4 separate regions of the Homo sapiens genome follow, and regions 1, 3 and 4 are each linked to region 2. Evidence: promoter capture Hi-C in 16 types of primary human blood cells and fetal thymus (Javierre and others, 2016). All regions are on one chromosome and are shown on one strand. The core of a region is centred on a gene start or on the middle of the fragment in contact, and the rest is flanking DNA. Distances in the headings are between cores, read along the strand shown. Region 1 overlaps DYNLRB1 (dynein light chain roadblock-type 1). Region 2 holds the start of TP53INP2 (tumor protein p53 inducible nuclear protein 2). Region 3 overlaps DYNLRB1 (dynein light chain roadblock-type 1). Region 4 overlaps ITCH (itchy E3 ubiquitin protein ligase).

Region 1 (5,295 bases), core at 515-3,014, 180 kb before region 2:
TTAGGATTACAGGCGTGAGCCACCACACCCAGCTGTTAGTTTCTTATGCATCTATACAAGCACTTATATGGCCCCCCTTTTTCTTACTTAAACTGTAGCTTTCTAGAACCTGTATTATGCTACTCCGTGGTTATACTCATAAAAGCAATGCAAATTTAGATGCCTAGTTTAACTTTTTTTTTTTTTCTTTTGAAACAGAGTCTTGCCCTTTCGCCCAGGCTGGAGTGCAGTGGTGTGATCTGAGCTCACTGCAACCTCTGCCTCCCGGGTTCGAGTGATTCTCCTGCCTCAGCCTCCGGAGTAGCTGGGACTGCAGGAGCATGCCACCATGCCTGGCTAATTTTTCTATTTTTGGTAGAGACAGGGTTTTTTTTCTATTTTTAGTAGAGACAGGGTTTCACCATGTTGACCAGGCTGGTCTCAAACTCATGACCTCAGGTGATCCGCCCACCTCCGCCTCCAAAAATGCTGGGATTATGGGCGTAAACCACCATGTATGTTAACAATTTGAAGCAGTACCAGAGGATATAATATAGAAAGTTTATGTGGTCCCCATCTTACTACCCCGTGGCAACTTCTGTTGGCAGTTGGGTGTGTTTCCTTCCAGATGTGTTTGGTGCATAAGCACATTTATGTATAAGCTGTTTATTAGATGAAACTGGAATATATATATATTTGTATATGTTAACTTTACTTTAAGGCTGAAGTGGAGAGATCGCCTGAGCCCAGGAGGTCAAGGCTACAGTGAGCCGTGACTGCACCACTGCACTCCACCCTGGGTGAGAAAAAAATAAGAGAAAACAGAAGTTGACTTTAAGATATATATGTATATATCTTATTCTGCAACTTGTTCTGTTCACTTAAAAATATCACACATTTTTCTGTGTTATTATATGCAGGTCCACTTCATTCTTTTTAAGGTCTGTATCGTATCCTAGTCCCATATGTACATTTAGGTGGTGTATAGTTTTTTTATTCCAGACACTGCTGCAGTAACTGTTCTTGTCTTTTTTGCACTCATGCTAGTGGTTATGTAGGATAGATTTCTACAAGTGGCACTTTTGGCTTGCATATTTTACATTTTAGGTGGAAACTGACCTTTAGAATAATGATATAAAAATCATCTATAATTGGCCGGACACAATGGCTGACGCATATAATCCCAGCACTTTGGGAGGCCAAGGTGGGCAGATCACTTGAGGTCAGGAGTTGGAGACCAGCCTGGGCAACATGGTGAAACTCTGTCTCTACTAAAAATACGAAAAGTAGCCGGAAGCCGTGCATCTGTAATTCCAGCTGCTCAGGAGGCTGAGGCACTAGAATCGCTTGAACCCGGGAGGCGGGGGTTGCAGTGATCCGAGACCAGGCCAGTGCACTCCAGCCTGGGCAACAGAGCAAGACTCTGTCTCAAAATAAATAAATAAAATTAAAAAATAATCACATATAATTCTCCTCGTCCAGTTTCACTGTGCCACATAACTATTTTCATCTTTGTATGTTCTCCTTCCTCTTTTGTTCACATATGCATATTTTCCAAGATAATGCATGCTGAGTTTTGGGGGGATTTTTTTCTTTTTTTGTTGTTTTAATATCCAAAAACATTTAACCTTGTTGTCATATCATCTTTGTGATTAACTACTTAGTGACTACATAATACTCGGTGAAATAGTTGTACCATAATTGGCCAAATATCTTACCTGTGTACATTTGGGTTGCTCCCATTTCTTTTTGGTTTGTTTGTTTTAGAGATGGAGTCTCACTCTGTTGCCCAGACTGGAGTTCAGTGGCTCAATCTCAGCTCACTGCAACCTCTGCCTCCCAGGTTCAAGTGATTTTCCTGCCTCAGCCTCCTGAGTAGCTGGGATTAACAGGTGTGCATCATGACGCCCAGCTAATTTTTGTATTTTTTAGTAGAAACAGGGTTTCGCCATGTTGGCCAGGCTGGTCTCAAACTCCTGACCTCAGGTGATCCGCCTGCCTCAGCCTCCCAAAGTGCCAGGATTACAGGCATGAGCCACCATACCTGGCTGCTTCCATTTCTTAATTAGTAGAAATAGTGCTGTGATGATGCTTCTGTGAATATCTTGTTTTGTTTCATTTTAACTTACTTATTAGATTATTTCCTCAGGATAAAATTCTTAGGAAAATAATTTCTGAGGTGGAAGGACCAGTGCTTTTATGGTTCTTGCAATATATTGTCCTGTAGCTTTGTCAAGATTGTATTGCCCTTGCACCTGCCAGTTTTGTAATAACAATGCCAGCATTTAAAAATAAACCTCAGCATTGCTATAATTTTTCATTTCTGTCTTTTTTTTTTGAAATGGAATCTCACTCTGTTGCCCAGGCTGGAGGGCACGATCTCAGCTCACTACAAACTCTGCCTCCCAGGTTCAAGCAATTTTCCTGCCTCAGCCTCCTGAGTAGCTGGGATTACAGGCCCATGCCACCATGACGGCTAATTTTTGTATTTTTAGTAGAGACAGGGTTTCCCCATGTTGGCCAGGCTGGTCTCAAACTCCTGACCTCAAGTGATTCACCCACCTCAGTTTCCCAAAGTGCTGAGATTACAGGTGTGAGCACCACGCCCAGCTGAATTTTTCATTTGTTTGTGAGGGATGATGACCATGGTTTGATGTGATTGTAATTTCTCGTAGGCATATTTTCTACTAGTATTCTTTTGTGCACTACCTACTAGAGACTTGCTATTGTTCTTAGTCATTTTGTGTTTTTTTTTTATTTATTTTGTCTGTTATATTTGATGCAAATACTTTTCTATCCTGTTAGATTAGTTATTCTTATACAGAAGTTTTATGTTTAGTGGTCAAATTGGTCATAGTTCTTTGTCAGTCATTTGCTTCCAGTGGTCATCCCTCCTATGCTGAGCCAATGGATCCTCCTGGATCTTTATTGCTGCTTGTTTTTCCATGTGTCAGGAATGTGCATCTGGGAACTAGAGAATTGGGGAACCTTGTCTCCATCATCCCATTGCCCAGAGTGCATTTCTTTCTCATCATTTGATTCTTGGCTTAAAGATGACATACTTATGGCCGAGAATGGTGGCTCACGCCTGTAGTCCCAACAGTTTGGGAGGCCAAGGCAGTAGATCACTTGAGCCCAGGAGTTCAAGACCAGCCTGGGCAACATGTCGAAACCCCATCTCTACAAAAAATTAGCTGGGTTTGGCAGTACACATCAGTAGTCCCACGTGTTCGGGAGGCTGAAGTGGGAGGATCACTTGAGCCTGGGAGGTCAAGGCTGCAGTGAGCCATGATCGAACCATGGCACGCCTGGGTGACAGAGTGAGACCCTATCTCAAAAAAAAAAAAGATTACATCTCCTCAGGTGTTCCTGACCACATTAGCCAGAGTAGCATCCCTTGCCCCACAGCCTAGTCCCTGTATCCTGCAAGAATCTTGCTCACTTGTTTAAGTCTCTTTCACCAGAATGTGAGCTCCCTGAGGGCAGGGACCTCCTCAGTTGTGGTCACCAGTATATTCAGCTCTTCTGTTGACCTGCAGTGTGTTCTTGGGCAAAACCCTTCTCCTTTCCAAACCTGTTTCCCCATCACTAACATGGAGATCATACTAACCCATGAATGGGAGTTTCAGAAGAGAGCATGTGTCTGAAAGCAATATATGACCCATAGTAGGCGCTGAGTAGGGAAATTATACCTATGTGTCCTCCCATTCCTGATAGATGTGTGAGATGTGTGTTTACTTTTCTTTTTTCTTTCTTTCTTTTTTCTTTTTCTTTTTTTTTTTTTTTTTTTTTTGATGAGTCTTACACTCTGTTTTCCAGGCTGGAGTGCAATGGCGCGATCATGGCTCACTGCAGCCTCGGCCTCCTGGGCTCAGGCAATCCTTTCACCTCAGCCTCCCAACTAGCTGGGACTGCAGGCACACGACACCACGCATGGTTAATTTTTTTTATCTTTTGTAGAGACGAAGCTTCACCATGTTGCCCAGGCTGGTCTCAAACTCCTGGGCTCAAGCAGTCTACCTGCTTTGGTCCCCCAAAGTGCTGGGATTACAGGCATGAGCCACTGTGCCCAGCCCATGTTTACTTTTAAACAGCCAGATCTTAGTATCTGGTTCTCGTTGAGTTTCAGATCACCTAAACCTTAGCTCTTTTTCACACTGTGGACTGTGAGGCCATGTCCCCCTCCTGTACTTAAAAAGGTTGATTTCGTGAAACATAGTTGCAGAAATGCTTTTTATTTGTTCCTTCAGTATTTATTGAGCCTATCCTATGCGAGGTACTGGGGCTATAAAGTCTGGTCTGGTTTCCTGATTCCAGGGTGCCTTGCGTCTGGAGGAGGAGATGAACGTGACCTAAACAGTTGCACTGCATTGTGGTCAGTGCTGCGAAGGCTGGGGGCCTCGGTGCCCAGTAGAGGGGCTGATGTCAGAGAAGCCTCCTGCGGGCTCTGGAGCTGAGTCCAAAGGGTTGGGAGGTAGTTACATCAAGCAGTGAGTGAAGGAGGGAAGCTTGTTTCCTTCAGACCGAGAGCAGCACCTGGCAGGGCAGGGGTAGGAGGCTTCCGCAGGCTGTGTTCGCCCCCTGCTGTCCCTTCTCCCCACAGCAGCCAGAGCCGTCCTTTGGAAGCATCAGGTCTTGTCACTCTTTACCTCAAAACTTGACAGTGGCTCCATGAATCACGCCCAGTGAAAACCAAGGTCAACACTTGATCTGCCAGGCCGTCTGTGGTCTGGTCCCGGATCCCAGCTGCTGTCCCTCCCCTGCTCCCTGCCCTTCAGCCACAGTGGCCCCTTTGCTTTTCCCCCTGAACATACCGGATGCTTGCCCACCCCAGGGCTTTTGTGCTTGCTCTTGGTGCTGTCTGGAACACTCCCCAGAAACCGGCATGGCTAACTCCCTCATTTCCTTCAGATGTCTACTCACTATTGCCTTGGTGAGCCTTCTCTGATGATGTATTTCACATTCCCATCACCCCTGCATTCCAGGTCCCGTTTCCCTGCTGTAGCTGACATTTATGTTTTACTTCTTTTTGCTTATTTAATGTCCTTTCCCACAAATGTCAGTTTCGTGACATGGGATTTTTGTTATATTTTGTTCACTGCATCATCACAGGCCTAGAACAATGTCTGGCATATGGAAGGTTGCCATGTAGTTACTAAATGAATAGCAGTCTTAAGAAATTTCATCTTTTTCATTTCAGCCCCATTCTCCAATCTCTGGGGGCTGTTTTGGATTTAGATTCTGACATCTCGGTTTTCACTTTCTTTCCCCTTTCTTTCTGGGTTGATTGCAGATTGAGCTGTCTTAAATTGTCAT
Region 2 (4,868 bases), core at 246-2,745:
CCTCTGGCCTAGGTCACCTCCGGCCTCCTTTTGGGCTAGGTGGGCAGTTCTCGGACCCTCCCCCACCAGCCCTGCTCTGCTGACCTAGAACCTCTGGCCCTGGAGATTCTGATATGTGTATTTGTGGTCTCTTCTCGGGCATCTCCCAGGCCACTGGGAGAGCTGGGGCCTAGAGCGTGGGGTGGGTGGAATCCTGAGGGCAGAGAGTGTGGAAGAATCTTACAATGGCAGCTCTAGAGGGAAGCCTGGATATGTTTGTTTGACAAACTGAGACCCAGAGAGGTAACATGACTTGAGGTCACACAGCAAGTCTAGGGCACAGTCAGGACTGAAAGCCAGGACTCTGGGGAGGCTAAAGCGCCCTGAGGTTTAGACCATCTGGTTCATGTAGAGAATGGAGAGGGTCAGGGCTGGGAGCTATGGGTTCAAATCCTGGCTCTGCCATTGACTGTACTTTTGTGACCTAAGAAAGTCACTTGAGCTCTCTGAGTCTGTTTCCTCAACTGTTAAACGGGACAATATCTACCTTTTGGGTTGTTGTGAAGATAAAAAAACACACCCATAGCACAGGTCGTGGCACACAGTAAGTGTGCCAATACATGTCAGCTAGTGGTATGGTGGTGCAATAGTAGGTGCCTAATAAATGTTGAATGCATTGTTGAACATGAGTTCACACGCTAACAGTGAGATTGTGAGACTCAGCTTTCCCACGTGTAAATCAGGACTCATAATCAGTCCCTGTCCTGCCACTTCTTTACAGCCCCGGTAGCAACATAGATTAAATAAGGTATGTAAACGTTCAAGCGCGGAGCCGTCTCAGGTCAATGTTTACTCAGCCCAGGGCAATTCCTCTCCAAGTCCTACTCTGCGAAATTTCACGTCAGCTTCACTAACTTCTCTACATTCCCAGATGCTCCCCGGGAACCGGGGGTTGGGGATGTCCCTCTTTTCTCAAGCCCGCCGAGCTGAGGAAAAACGGGGTGGGAAAGCAGAGTGTGTAAGGCTGAGGAGGTGAGCCAGAGGGGGGAGGGAGAGCAGGAATAAGGGCAGTGGGGAGAATGCAGGTGCACGGACGTGGTGTGGGTCGAGAACAGGGTCCGCATCGGGGGACTTGGATATAGGATGCAGTGAAAGGATTTGGGGAGCAGTGGGAGAGGTGAGGGCGCTGCGATCCGGGAAGAATCAGGAAAATAAGGAGCCGGTAGGAGGGAGTGGAGATCCTCCTCGCGGAGAGCTCGCCGCGGCGCAGGGCTCCCAGCTCCCCGCAGCTGCCTCCCCGAACACTCACCCTCCCGGTTCCGAGAACGTTTCCCGGCCCGAGCGCCCGGCCCGCAAACCGGGAGGGGAGGGGAGGGGAGGGGCAGGGGGGGATCCGCAGCCCGGGATTGGCCGCCGCCCCGCCAGCCGGTGACGCGAGGCGGGCGGGCCCCTTTGTGACGTCACAATCAGCTGTTTGAACGTTCCAATTTGTGCCGTGAGCCCCGCCGCAGCGGCCGCACAGACTCAAAGCCCCGCGGGCGAGCTCAGCAGCCCGGAGCGACCGCGGCCCCGCCGCCTCCCCCGCGAGTCCCGGCGATGCGGCCCGGCCTGTGAGCGGCCGGCGACCCTGGGACGCCCCGCCGCACAACTACCTCAACGCCGTGCCGCCCCCCTCCCGCCCCCAGGTGAGTCCCGACCCGGGTGGGCCTGGGGGCTCCCCTGCCACGGACACGCCCTGCGCCCCCCGCGCCCGGGCCTTTGTCTGTCTCCGCCGGCGGCCGCCGGGGCCGCGTTCCCGGCTCCCGATTGGTTGCCGCACGCCCGGTAGACCATGACGTCGTTCTATTTGCATATGACATTGAGACGTCACCAAGGCCGGTACCGCCCCCACAGGCTCGGGTCGCTTGTCCTCCCGTGACCCGGTAGCCGCTGTGTCGGGGCTGGGCCCTGGGTGAGACGCTGCAATCCAAAGGGGGCTGCAGGGGGATCGGCGATTTCCTAGGCTTATCCAGGGGCTGGGGTCAGGCCTCTGATCCCCTACTTTCTCTTTGCAACCTGAGAAGGAGTCAGACGGCGCTGCTGGGCCTAGGTTGAGGGGGTCGTCAGGAGTTCAGGGCTGCATGGGACTCCAGGTGGTTGGGACAGCACCAGATGGTGGTGGGATCCCCTCCCTCCGGCTCCAGACTCCGCCCCCAGGGACTAACAGAATAACATCCTCCTAATCCCTGATTTGTGTGCAGCGCCTTAGCTGATGTCACTCCTAGACCCAAAATGAAGGGTCTTAGACCCCAGTGCATGGAAGGGGCAACAGGCCCAGAGAGGAGGATTAGCTCTCTCGAGGTCACATAACCAATTAGAGTCATGCTCACTGAGTGACAGATGGATTATTAGCCAGGGGCAAAGACATAATAGGGGCTCAGTACAAGTGGTAAGATACACATCCTCCTTCCACTGGGGACCCGATCTTGGGCTCAGCCTTATCACGGTTTGATAGGCTCCTAGGTGTCCTTACTCCTGGACCCTTTTCCAGGGAATCTCTGGAGATTGGTTCACCTTTTGTGGTCCTGACCCCTTCTGTCCTCACTGTACCTTGAAGTCCTAGAGTCCAATAAAATCGCTGCCTCCCAGCTGTTTGGATCACAGAGAGGTGAGTCATTGGCTGCCTCGGGGTGTCTCCAGGGCTGATGTTGGGGTGGAGGGTGGGGTGAGGGTTCCCTCTATTGGCCCTTTACCTTCCCAACTTCCTAGGTCGTCAGCTAGGAAGGGCCTGACCTGGCCTAGTGCAGACAATTGCAGGTGTTTTGCTGCTCCCTCGTCACCTCTGCCCACAGAGAGTATAGGAGAAGGGATAGGATAAGGAGAGTTTCTGACTTAACAAGTGGATGGGCCTAGAGGCTGAACCAGGAACTCCATTCCTGCTGGGAGTTTGCTCAAGGATGGGCTGGGGGTAGGGGTGGCTTAGGGCACAAATGCTATTCTGGGCAGAGCTGCTGTAGTTATTAAAGGGAATGGTTCTCCCTGGAGCAGAACTGGGAATGTGAGAACCAGGAAGCTGGCAGGGCTGGGAAAGGAAATCTGGGAGGCTCCCCAAGTGGTCAGGAGAGGGGGCAGGCACTGGCTGGCTGGTGACTGCTTTCACTCCTGGCTGTCACTGACTTGCTGTGTGACCTCAGGCAGGGAGCTTTTCCCCTGAGCCTCCCTCCCCTAAACCTATCTGAAATTTGGGGAGGCACAGTGCAGGCTCTGGTACACAGTGGGTCTTCAGTAAATGCATGCTAAATCTTGGTGCCAGTAACCCCAGACCCTTTTGTAGCTAGGCGAGGGGTGGTGTGGCTAGGTCAAGGTCTTTTTCACCTCCCTGTACCCCTGCATCATTGTATTCTTGGGGATTGTTTGCTGAGTCTTTCCTGACTGTGTACACTCTGGACTGGATGCACAGTAACGTGGGACTAGGTCTGCCCTGCCACTATCTAGCCATGTATTTTTGGATAGATTTATGTCTTCTTTCTGATCATCAGATTTTAAAATGGGCTGGGTGAATATGATGGTCCCTGAAACAGCTCTTAACTTCTCTTTCATATTCCATGAATTAGTAGGTTCTTGGAAGGAGGATGTGCCTCATCAAGGCCTCGATATTCCCTTCCTTCAAGAGGGGCCAAACTTTCTGGGCTTTTGGTAATGGAGTCACTAGCTCCCTGTGGCTACATATGGGTTGGGATACATGAATTGTGCTGGGTGGACACTAGTTGGGGGTGGCCCCACCTTCTTAATCCCTGTAGATCTCCCACCCCCATCCCACCAGAGAAGCCAGCATCTTAAGCCTACTGTGAGTCTGCAGATGTGGAAATATTCTCAGGGTATGGAAGTGAGGTGATTCTGCAGCAAGTGTGAAAACATTTCTAGGGAATGGGGGAGGTAGCAATAAGCATGGCAATACTGCAGGTGGATTAGCAGAAAGAGGAGAAATGCCTTCAGGGAAGTCTGGACATGCCCCCAGGAAGTTCTACAGGAAGTGTGGAAACACCCTTAGAGAATGGTGACAAGTGTCTCAGCAGCAAAACCGTTGAGCATCTTTAGGGAACAGGTGTGGAGAGTCAGTCAGGCTTCAGGTACTGGGGGAGTATGGCCAGCAGCCCCCAGCCAAGCTCTAGTCCTGAGGTAGGCTGGCATGGGGAGGGGGTAGATCTAGAGCTACCACCTTGGTGTTTCCATTTCTGCAGTAGGGGGCCTCCCTCTTCATCTTCACCCAGGGAAGGATTGGTTAAGGGCTTACCTCGGTCTGGGTCCAACCCTCAGTGCTCATCCTTAAGGGCTCCTGGGAACTGACAGCTCCCTCCCTTCATCATCACCTCCCACTGACCTGCTGTCTCACTGAGCCCAAGCAACCTGATCTTCCTCCTACCCCTGGATGCTGCCCTTGAACAGGAGCCTGGGAAAAGGGGGTCAGAGGGGGGAGGGCCTGCCGGCATGCCATCTTTACACTTCATATGACAGACACAACCGAGGTGTGCCAAATCACATGGTAAGATGGTAGCAGTTCTATGGGATTTCTGCTGGCCAGTGCTTTTCAAACCACACAGGCTCCAGGAGTGGTTCTTAATCTCTGGGGTCAAAGATTGCTGTTTAGGAAATCATGATGAAAACCAAGGTCCTTTTTCCCAGAAAAATACACATGGACCATGACCCCTGGCCACCAAATTGAAAATATCAAATTCAGACAGACACCCAGAAAAGGCAATAGAATATAGTGATTCTGGGTGCTGCCTCTGGAATCTGATTGTGTGGATTCAATCCCACCTTTGTCTCCTACTAGCTCTGAGACTTTGGGACAGTTAACTTCTCTGAGCCTCAATTTCTTAACTGTAAAGTAAGGACAGTAATTATCCACT
Region 3 (5,171 bases), core at 699-3,198, 170 kb before region 2:
TGTGCGTGCGTCACGTATGCGCGTGATGGTGCACTCCCGCTGCAGTGCCGCTTATCTAGGGCATCAGGATGTGAGTGGGGAGGAGTGGGAGGTGAGGCTTTGGTCCAGTTTAGAAGGGGCCACAAACACCTAACTCAGTTGCATGGACTTGATCTTGCAAGCAGAGGTTTTTAGGGCAGGAGGTGATAGGATTATGATTAGGACCTGGATAAAGGAAGGCAGTGGGGGGTCTGGGGACACTGAATGCTCTGGACTGGCAACACAGAGGGCAAGGAGGCTGGCCACAGAGTTCTGAGGTAATTTGATGGGAGGTCAGCCACTCCCTGCAGCAGACCAGCATAGGTTCTGTCACCAGGCCTGGAAGGATGGGCAGGAAAGAACTATAGAGCCAGTCACAGCAGCCCACAGGCTCCCTGGGACACTCCCTAGAGGGGTGGGGACAGAGCAGTTCAGTCACAGAGAAGAACATAAGAATAACTCCAGAGTCTATTATTCCAAAATCACGCTTCTGTGTGTAATGCCTGATCCATCGGGGAGAAAAGACTGCAGGAGGCACAGAATCTGTTTTCCCAGCTTTGCTTCCCACAAGCATGACCCTGGGCAAGTCGCAGAACACCTGCAAATCCACATCTGTAAAGTGTCGAGTAGGGGACTGTGCTGTGCTGATGTCCTGAGCCACCCTGCCTGGTTGAGTGTGTTGACCTGGGTTGGGGGAAAAAGCCTTGGAATCAGATTTAAACTGCAGTTCCTCCCAGGTTGTCATGTTGTGTGACTGCAGAGGACAAAGCTTCACTCCCCAAAAGTCGGGCCGGGATGGAGCGCAGTGGCTCACGCCTGTAATCCCAGCACTTTGGGAGGCCAAGGCAGGCGGATCACAAGGTCAGGAGTTCAAGACCAGCCTGACCAACATGGTGAAACCCCGTCTCTACTAAAAATAAAAAAATTAGCTGGGCATGGTGGCGCACACCTGTAATCCCAGGTACTTGGGACGCTGAGGCAGGAGAATCACTTGAACCCAGGAGGCGGAGCTTGCAGTGAGCTGAGATCGCGCCACTGCACTCCAGCCTGGGAAACAGAGTGAGACTCTGTCTCAAAAAAAAAAAAAAAAAAAAAGTTGGGCCGGGAACAGTCCCCCTGCTCACCCTGTGCACAGCAGACCTTGTGCTCCCCAGTGGCCCACTGGGAGTTCAGGGTATGGGGGAAGGGAGCAAATTACTTGGTCTCCAAATCAGACAAATTCTCCACAGACAGTGTCCCTTGGCATAAAGCTCCTGAGAATGTCTCCTCTGGAAGGACAGTGTCATCTGAAAGCTCCTGGCCATTCAGGTCTCAACTTGGCAGCGGCAGCGTCTCCAATTTGGCCCTGAAGACCCACAGGCATTCAGAGCCCATGACTGTGGTTGGTGCTTGAGTCCAGAATGGGCAGCTCCCAAGTAGGGGGTTCTCCTTGGGGTTCACAGGCCTGGAGATCCCACAACCTTGTCAGTGGAGGAGGATGAGGTGGCCAGTCCCTCACCTTGGCAGCACTGCAGGGGGCGCCCGTGCTCTCAAGTCACACTGTCTCTCTCCCACACACATGCGGCGCTGTGCTGGAGGACGGTGGCGCGCTGAGCTTGTCTTACAGAGCATGCTTCTTTGGCTCAGCCTCACTGCTGCCACTCAAGTCCTTCCTCGTCACCAAATGCTTACCTGCATTTTTAAGGCCATCTACTCCACTTGAGAGTAAGTTCTATGAGGGCAGGGGCTTGTAAGCACATAGTAAGCATCTAGCAAATATCCATTGATTAAATAAATGAATGACTCTGTAAACCTCCCTCCACTGCTGACACCCCACTGATATGGGTCAGAAGTGGGGTCAGCAGTGGGGACGGGGTCAGGGATGTCTGTGGGGCATAGTTTTAGGATGAAAACCAGTGATTTGACACTTTGACATACCCACTTTTATGTGGCCAAGAAAAAATAATTGGGTTTTGGTGCCAGAACTCCTGTGGTCAGGAGCCACCACGCAGAGCCTAGGAGGCCCTGGCGCTGAATTGCCTCAGGATGGCTACAGAACACAGGACCCAGGGGTGGCCACAGGCGTAGAGCAGGCCTGGCTGCTGCTGGAAGTGCCCGTTTGAGACTGTAGTTAGCACCCTACACATCGTGGGCAGCCTGGAGCAGCCTGGCCCGGGAGGGAGATCCATGCCTTCCCACCTGCCTGACCTGACCCCATCCAGCTGAGGTACTGCTTCCCAGGCTGCAGACAGCAGCAGGTGTTCCAGACAGTGTGGCTCTCCACATGTGTGCCACATTCACCCCACCCTGGCCCAGAACCGCCCACGTGAACAGGCTTTTTTTTTTTTTTTTTTTTGAGACAGGGTCTAGCTCTGTTGCCCAGGCTGGAGTGCAGTGGTGCGATCATGGCTCTCTGCAGCCTCAGCCTCCCTAGTATACTGCTGGGACCACAGGCATGTGTCGCCACACCCAGCATTTTTTTTTTTTTTTTTTTTTTTGGTAGAGACAGGGTTTCACTATGTTGCCCAGGCTGGTGTCAAACTCCTAGGCTCAAGCGATTCTCCCACCTCAGCCTCCCAAAGTGCTGGGATTATATGCGTGAGCCACCATGCCCGGCCAAGACATTTTAACACAAACTTTTGTTAGCTGGACATGGTGGCACCAGTATTCCCAGCTACTCGGGAGGCTGAGGCAGGAGGATCGCTTGAGCCTGGGCAGTTGAGGCTGCAGTGAGCCATGATCACGCCACTGCACTCCAGCCTGGGCAACAGCGAGACCCAGTCTCAAAAAACAAAACAAAAAAAACAGACTTCTAGTTTTCACTTATTAACTTCACTAGTATTAAAGCTGAGGTAACTAACTCAGCCTACACAACCTTCAACACACACTACCTCTCACAAAGCACCTGAAGTGGTATTGTTGCATTTAGGGCTTGATGATTTGGAGTAAAAGACACTGATGTTACCGATTGTGCCTATTTTTATCAGTGGCTTGTTAATTATTTCTGTTTTCATTAGTGATTTTTATGTATGCAGATTGGTTAGCCATGAAACTGTTAGTCACTTCATTTCTGTTTCTTCCCTGTTGCAACAGCCCATCTTCGTGGGAAGAACCAAGCTTTAGGCTTGGCTCTGAACAGCCACAAAGTGACTTGGCTGAGGTCCTGCCATTTCGCTCATGCTCAGCAGGGGGCAGCAGACCAGGGCAGTTCAGAGTATGGGGTCAAACCCAGGTCCCTGTCCCCACTCCACCTGTGGATTTACCCTGGATTGGGCAAGCCCTTTAACTCTCTGAGGCTCCGTGTTCTCAGAGTGACTCGAGGATTCACTGAGGTGCCGTGTGAGAAGTGGGTGGCCCAGACCTGGACACAAAGAAGCCTTGATCAATGTTTGCAGTTTGATTAAGTGGGTAAATCTGCATATATAAAAATCACTAATGAAAACAAATAATTAACAAGCCACTGATAAAAATAGGCACAATCGGTAACATCAGTGTCTTTTACTCCAAATCATCAAGCCCTAAATGCAACAATACCACTTCTCCAGTTACCTCTTCAGTGAAACGGGAGGCACTCAGGCTCACCTCCAAGGACTTGGACTTGCTGTGATTTAATGGTGGACATTCCTCCTTACAGGGCCAGATCCCTGGAGCTGGAATCCAGGCTGCTTTGTCCCATTTTGAAATTTTCTTATTCAGAAGGTTCTGGAAAGCCAACAAATTGAGTTTGTGACAGAAATTGACATTAACTGGCTGGGTGTGGTTGCTCACACCTATAATCCCAACACTTTGGGAGGCTGAGACAGGAGGATCACTCGAGCCCAGGAGTTTGCAACCAGCTTGGGCAACATAGTGAGACCCCATCTGTACAAAACTTTTTTTTTTTCTTAATGGAGTCTCACTTTATCACCCAGGCTGGAGTGCAGTGAGGCGATCTGCAACTTCTGCCTCCCAAGTTCAGGCAGATCTCCTGCCTCAGCCTCCCAAGTAGCTGGGATTACAGGCACCTGCCACCAAGCCTGGCTAATTTTTGTATTTTTAGTAGAGATGGGGTTTCACCATGTTGGCCAGGCTGGTCTTGAATTCCTGACCTCAAGTGATCTGCCCACCTTGGCCTCCCAAAGTGCTACGTGAGCCACCACGCCTGACCTTCTACAAAAAACTTTTTAAAAATTTACCCAGGTTTGGTGGGGTGTGCCTGTAGTCCCAGCTACATGGGAGGCTGAGGCGGGAGGATCACCTGAGCCCAGGAGGTCAAGGCTGCAGCGAGTCATGATCGCACCACTGTACTCAGCCTGGGTGACAGAGCTCTTGCTCTGTCTCGCGGAGGGGAAAAAAAGAGAGAGAGAAAAAAGAAAATGACATTACCCAAGTCCAGTGAAGTATGTCGGAATTCCATCTTTGACACTAAGTAGCTGGGTAACCTTAAGCCAGTGGTCCTCCCACAGCCTACAACATCAGCATCACCTGGGAACTTGTTAGAGAAATGCAAACTCTTGGGCTTTGCCCCAGCCCCACTAAATGATGGTTCTGGGCGTAGAGCCCTCCAGGTGGTTGGGATGCCTGCTAGCTTGACAACCATGGCCTTAGGCAATTCATTGGAGCTCTTTGAACTGGAGTCCCCCCACCTGGAAAACAGGGGTGAGAATCCTGCCTACCTGCTGCCACTGTCGTGGGGAGGATTAGAAGAGACGACACACTGTAGAGTGCCCGCTGCCCGGTATGGGGAGGCCCCTCTTGCAGGAGCCCCTGCAGGAATCTTAAAGGTTTATCTTCCGTTTTCCCAGCATTTGGAGATGCTGAACGTTGATGCTTTTTGTTGCTTTCTCCCCTTCCTCATTTTATGGTTAGTGATTTAATGGTTTATTTGCTTTCTTGTGTGTTTTTCTCTCATTTTACATTTAGTGATTTTTTTTCATTTTTCTCTTTTGCAGATAAAGACTATTTCCTGATTGTGATTCAGAATCCAACCGAATAAGCCACTCTCTTGGCTCCCTGTGTCATTCCTTAATTTAATGCCCCCCAAGAATGTTAATGTCAATCATGTCAGTGGACTAGCACATGGCAGTCGCTTGGAACCCACTCACACCAATCCAGTGACCGTGTGTGGGCTGGCGGCTCTTCTCCCCCACCAACGGAACCCCTGTGTGCACCAACCTTCCCCAGAGCTCCGGAGC
Region 4 (5,297 bases), core at 1,985-4,484, 200 kb before region 2:
TCTGGTCTTGCACTCCTGAACTCCGGTGATCCGCCCACCTTGGCCTCCCAAAGTGATGGGATTACAGGCATGAGCCACTACACCCAGCCGTCATTGGTATTTCTGTAGGGATTGCATTGAATCTGTAGAAATTTTTAATAGTACGGTTATTAGTGGAGTATTAATTTTTCAACCCATGAACATGGGATGTCTTTACATTTTTTGTGTGTTTTCTTCAGTTTCTTTTGTCAGTGTTTTATAGTTTTTGCTGTAGAGATCGTTCACCTCCTTGGTTAAATTTATTTCTAGGTTTTTGTTGTTTGTAGCTATTGTAAGTAGGATTGCTTTCTTGATTTCTTTTTCTTCTAGTTTGTTGTTTTATAGAAACGCTGCTGATTTTTGTATGTTGATTTTGTATCCTACAACTTTACTTAATGTGTTTATCAGTTCCAATAATTTTTTATTGGTGGAGTTTTTAAGGTTTTCTGTATATAAGGTCATGTTGTCTGCGAACAGGTATAGTTCAACTTCTTCCTAATTCTGATGCCCTTTATTTCTTTCTCTTATCTAATTGCTTTGGCTGGGACTTCCAGCAGTTTGTTGAATAAATGTGGTGAAAGTGGGCACCCTTGTCTTGTTCCATATCTTGGAGGAAAAGCTTTTAGTTTTCTCTGTTCAGTATGATGTTGGCTGTGGATTTGTAATATATAGCCTTTATTATGTTCAGGTACATTCCTTCTGTGCCTAACTTGTTGAGAGTTTTTCTTATGAAGTGATGTTGGATTTTATTAAATATTTTTTCTGCATCTATTGAGAAGATCATATGGTTTAGCCCATCATTCTGTTGATATACTTTGTTATGTTCATTGATTTGTATATGTTGAACCATCCTTGCAACCTTTGGATCTTTTTAATGTGTTGCTGAATTTGATTTGCTTGTATTTCATTGAGGATTTTTGCATCTGTGTTCATCAAGGATATTGGCCTATAGTTTTCTTTTCTTTTCTTTTCCTCCTTTTTTTTTGTTTTTGTTTCTTGTATCCTTGTCTAGTTTTGGTATCAGGGTAACGCTGGCCTTGTAGAATGAGTTTCAAAAAATTCTCTCTTCTATTTTCTGGAAGAGCTTGAAAAGAATTGGTATTAGTTCTTCTTTAAATGTTTGTTAGAATTCCATTGGTTCCTAGACTTTTGTTTTCTTTGATGGGAGACTTTTTTTTTTTTTCTTGAGACAGAGTCTTGCTCTTTCACCCAGGCTGGAACGCAGTGGCACGATCTCGGCTCACTGCAACCTCCGCCTCACAGGTTCACACCATTCTCCTGCCTCAGCCTCCCGAGTAACTGGGACTACAGGCGCCTGCCACCATGCTCGGCTAATTTTTTGTCTTTTTAGTAGAGACGGGGTTTCACCGCGTTAGCCAGGATGGTCTCGATGTCCTGACCTTGTGATCCGCCCGCCTTGGACTCCCAAAGTGCTGGGATTACAGGCGTGAGCCACTGTGCCCAGCTTTTTTTTTTTTTTTTTTTTTTTTTTTTTTTTTTGAGACAGTCTTGCTCTGACACCCAGGCTGGAGTGCAAATGGGAGACTTTTTATTACAGATTCAGTCATGTTACTTATAATTGATCTTTTCAGCTTTTCTGCTTTTTCTTGGTTCAGTCTTGGTAGGTTGTATGTGTCCAGGAATGTATCAATTTCCATAGGTTTTCTAAGTTGGTGTGTAGTTCATAATAATTTCTAAAGGTCCTTTGTATTTCTGTGGTGTCAGTTGTAATGTCTCCCTTTTCGTTTCTGATTTCATTTATTTGGGTCTTTTCTTGGTTAGTTTAGCTAATGGTTTGTCAATTTTGTTTATCCTTTCAGAAAAAAAAAACAACTTTTCATTTCATCTATCTTTTGTCTTCATTTTTAGCCTCATTTTTGTTTATTTCTGTTTTGATCTTTATTATTTCTTTCCTTCTAGTAATTTTGGGTTTGCTTTGTTCTTTTCTGGTTTCTCAAAGTGTATCATTAGGTCATTTGTTTAAAATCTTTCCACTTTTTTGATGTAGGCATTTATTGCTATAACATTACCTTTTAATATTGGTTTTGCTATATTTTATAATTTTCAATATATTGTGTTTCCATTTGCATTTGTTTCATGGAATTTTTAAATTTCCTTTTACATTTCCCCATTGGTCATTCTGGAGCACGTTTAATTACCATGTATTTATACAATTTTGAAAGTTCCTCTTTTTATTGATTTCTAGTCTTACTCCATTGTGTTCAGAAAATATATTTGACATTATGACTTCAGTTCTTTTAAATTTGTTGAGACTTGTTTTGGGTCTTAATATGTGGTTTCCCCAGGAGAATGTTCCATGTGCTGATGACAAGAATGTGTATTCTGAAGCTGTTGGATGAAATGTTCTATGAATGACTGTTAGGTTCATTTGGTCTGAAGTACAGTTTAAATCCAATGTTTCTTTGTTGATTTTCTGTCTAGATGATCTATCCAGTGCTAAGAGTGGATATTGAAGTCCCCAACTAGTATTGGAGTCTGTCTTTCCCTTTTAATATAATAATATTTCCTTTTTATATCTGGGTTCTTTGGTGTTGGGTGCATATATAACTCTCATATCCTCTTGTTGAATTGGTCCCTTTATCATTATAGAATGCCCTTTGTCTCTTTTTATAGTTTTTGATTTAAAGTCTGTTTGCCTGATATATGTATAGCTACTCCTGCTCACTTTGGATTTCCATTTCCATGAAATATCTTTTTCATCCCTTCCTTTTCAGTCTGTATGTGTCTTTACGGGTAAAGCAAGTTTCTTGGAGGCAGCATATGATAGTTGGGTCATTTTTCTTTTTAAATCTATTCAGCCAGTCTATATCTTTTTAGTAGGGAATTTATCCACTTATATTCAAGGTTATTACTGATAGATCAGGACTTACTCCTGTCATTTTTAAAATTACTTTCTGGTTGCTTTATATATCCGTCGTTCCTTTCTTTCTCTCATTGTTTATCATTATGGTTTTTGTGGTTTTCTATAGTGCTAAGGTTTGGTTCTTTTTTCCCTTAGTGTATCTGCTCTACCAGAGTGTTATATTAATACTTTTTGTGTATTTTCATGAGAGTGATTATCATCTTTTCACTTCCAGATGTGGGAGTCCGTTGAGCATTTTTCATAAGGTGATGAATTCCTTCTATTTCCCCATGTCTGGGAAATACTGTATTTCTCCTGTATGTCTGAAGGATGGTTTTGCTGGGTATAGTAATCTTGGCTGCCAATTTTTTTCTTGCAGTACTTTGAATATTATCTCATTCTCTCCTGGTCTGTAAGGTTTCTGCAGAGGCAGCCATCTAGTTTAAACTTCCACCCAGCACAGGAAGAGAAAGTTTTAGAGGTGGTGTATGTAATTCTTTAATGGGATGCTTCTTGACCTTGGGGATGGATCCAACATCCCACTTTTATTAATATATATTCATAATATCCCCTTTAATACACTGATTTATGGATGAAATAACCTATTGACAATCCCTAGAAAATACTTATACATAGCCTTAACTGTAATATAAGGGATTAAATTTTTTAGGTAATTTATAATGAAATAATATGTGTTTTAATACATGTCTATTTGGGGACAACTATGTTAGAAGATATACCTAAGAAGTCAAATATTTGTTCCTACTTATAAGAAAAGGTTTAAGACAAGATCAAAAGCCATTCTCTATAAGAAGTACTGGAAGGGCTGAGTGCGGTGGCTCACGCCTGTAATCCCAGCACTTTGGGAGGCTGAGGCGGGCGGATCACCTGAGGTTGGGAGTTCGAGACCAGCCTGACCAACATGGAGAAACCGTATCTCTACTGAAAATACAAAATTAGCCAGGCGTGGTGGCACATGCCTGTAATCCCAGCTACTCAGGAGGCTGAGGCAGGAGAATCGCTTGAACCTGGGAGGCAGAGGTTGCAGTGAGCCAAGATCGTACCATTGCACTCCAGCCTGGGCAACAAGAGCGAAACTCCATCTCTCAAAAAAAAAAAAAAAAAGACAAGTAGTACTGGAAAATAAAAGAACAGATGAGAAAGATAAATAATAGACTTAAGTATATGTGATAACAAAAGGAGGGAAGTAACCTAAATAAAGTATGAATAATACACCTGCAAAAATAAATTATAGATGGTCAAGGTGGAGAAAAATGAGGTAGATCTTAAAAGCATAGTATCAGAATATATCTCCTGTCATGAAATTCTACTATAGGCCAAGGCTCTAACATGTAAAAAAGCCTCGGAGACCATAACATTTGAAAGGTGGCTGAAAATAGGAACATAGGTACAAAAGTCTACACAGAAGTTGTATGGTTTAGGGACAGTGTCAGAGTTTTTAATATTTGATTTTAAATCTATTAAAAGCAATTCAGAATCCTTTCTGTTACATACTAATGTGCATTATTAAATGAAACTCCTTTCCATCTATGTAGTTAAATATGCTGCTAGGTATGGTGGGCACACATCTGTAGTCCCAGTTATTTGGAGGCTGAGGCAGGAGAATTGCTGGAGCCCAAGATTTCAAGCCTGTAGTGCACTATAACTGCTTCTGTGAACAGCCACTGCACTTAAGCATGGGCAACATAGTGATACCCTGTGTCTTAAAAAAAAAAAAAATTTATAAAAAATGAAATGTGACCAGGTACAGTGACTCACACCTGTAATCCCAGCACTTTGGGAGGCCGAGACGGTTGGGTCACTTGAGGTCAGGAGTTCAAGACCAGCCTGGCCAACATAGTGAAACCCCATCTCTACTAAAAATACAAAATTAGCCGGGTGTGGTAGTGGGCACCTGTAATCCCAGCTACTCGGGAGGCTGAGGCAGGAGAATCACTTGAACCTGGGAGGCGGAGGTTGTGGTGAGCCAAGATTGCTCCACTGCACTCCAGCCTGGGAGACTCCGCCTCAAAAAAAAAAAGAAAATGCTATAAAATATTGAGTAGAGGGTGGACATGATGGCTCATGCCTGTAATCCCAACACTTTGGGAGGCCAAGGTGGGTTGATCACTTGAGGCCAGGAGTTCAAGACCAGCCTGGCCAACATGGTAAAACCCCATCTTTACTAAAAATACAAAAATTAGTTGGGTGTGGTGGTGCACATCTGTAATCACAGCTACTCTAAGGCATGAGAATTGCTTGAACCCAGGAGGCGGAGGTTGCATTGAGCCAAGATTGTGCCACTGCCATCCAGCCAGGGTGACAGAGTGAGACTCTGTCTCAAAAAATATATATATTGAGTAGAGAGAACATGCAGAGTGAGTTAATTTTAATTTATGTGTTGAACACCACAGAA

The links. The method cuts DNA at HindIII sites, captures the fragments that hold promoters and counts their contacts. A CHiCAGO score of 5 or more calls a contact.
Region 1: a fragment that was not itself captured here is called in contact with the fragment with the promoter of TP53INP2 in region 2 in 2 of 17 cell types (neutrophils and naive B cells); the score reaches 8.6 in neutrophils.
Region 3: a fragment that was not itself captured here is called in contact with the fragment with the promoter of TP53INP2 in region 2 in 17 of 17 cell types (megakaryocytes, neutrophils, naive CD4 T cells and 14 more); the score reaches 21.2 in megakaryocytes.
Region 4: a contact is called between a fragment that was not itself captured here and the fragment with the promoter of TP53INP2 in region 2, in 1 of 17 cell types (neutrophils). The highest score is 6.4, in neutrophils.

Annotation. Positions count from the first base shown.
Region 1 is chr20:34,518,720-34,524,014 of GRCh38, forward strand. All of the region lies in intron 1 of DYNLRB1 (dynein light chain roadblock-type 1), which reads left to right. Among named protein-coding and RNA genes, the nearest start is that of DYNLRB1, 4.9 kb to the left of the region's middle. RefSeq lists an enhancer at 4,219-4,718. The HindIII fragment of the contact is 4,361 bases long and covers 1-3,945 here.
Region 2 is chr20:34,702,849-34,707,716 of GRCh38, forward strand. It overlaps TP53INP2 (tumor protein p53 inducible nuclear protein 2), which reads left to right and starts at 1,496. Exons shown (of 5, transcript NM_021202.3): 1 at 1,496-1,664; 2 at 2,510-2,626. LOC105372599 (a long non-coding RNA gene) reads right to left here and starts at 1,334. Exons shown (of 2, transcript XR_936690.3): 1 at 1,289-1,334; 2 at 811-965. RefSeq lists a silencer at 1,292-1,771. The HindIII fragment of the contact is 9,202 bases long and covers 1-4,868 here.
Region 3 is chr20:34,535,653-34,540,823 of GRCh38, forward strand. It overlaps DYNLRB1 (dynein light chain roadblock-type 1), which reads left to right. Exons shown (of 4, transcript NM_014183.4): 4 at 4,929-5,171. The coding sequence ends at 4,972. Among named protein-coding and RNA genes, the nearest start is that of MAP1LC3A, 20 kb to the right of the region's middle. RefSeq lists a silencer at 3,096-3,205. The HindIII fragment of the contact is 2,327 bases long and covers 786-3,112 here.
Region 4 is chr20:34,497,789-34,503,085 of GRCh38, forward strand. All of the region lies in intron 23 of ITCH (itchy E3 ubiquitin protein ligase), which reads left to right. Among named protein-coding and RNA genes, the nearest start is that of DYNLRB1, 16 kb to the right of the region's middle. The HindIII fragment of the contact is 5,199 bases long and covers 636-5,297 here.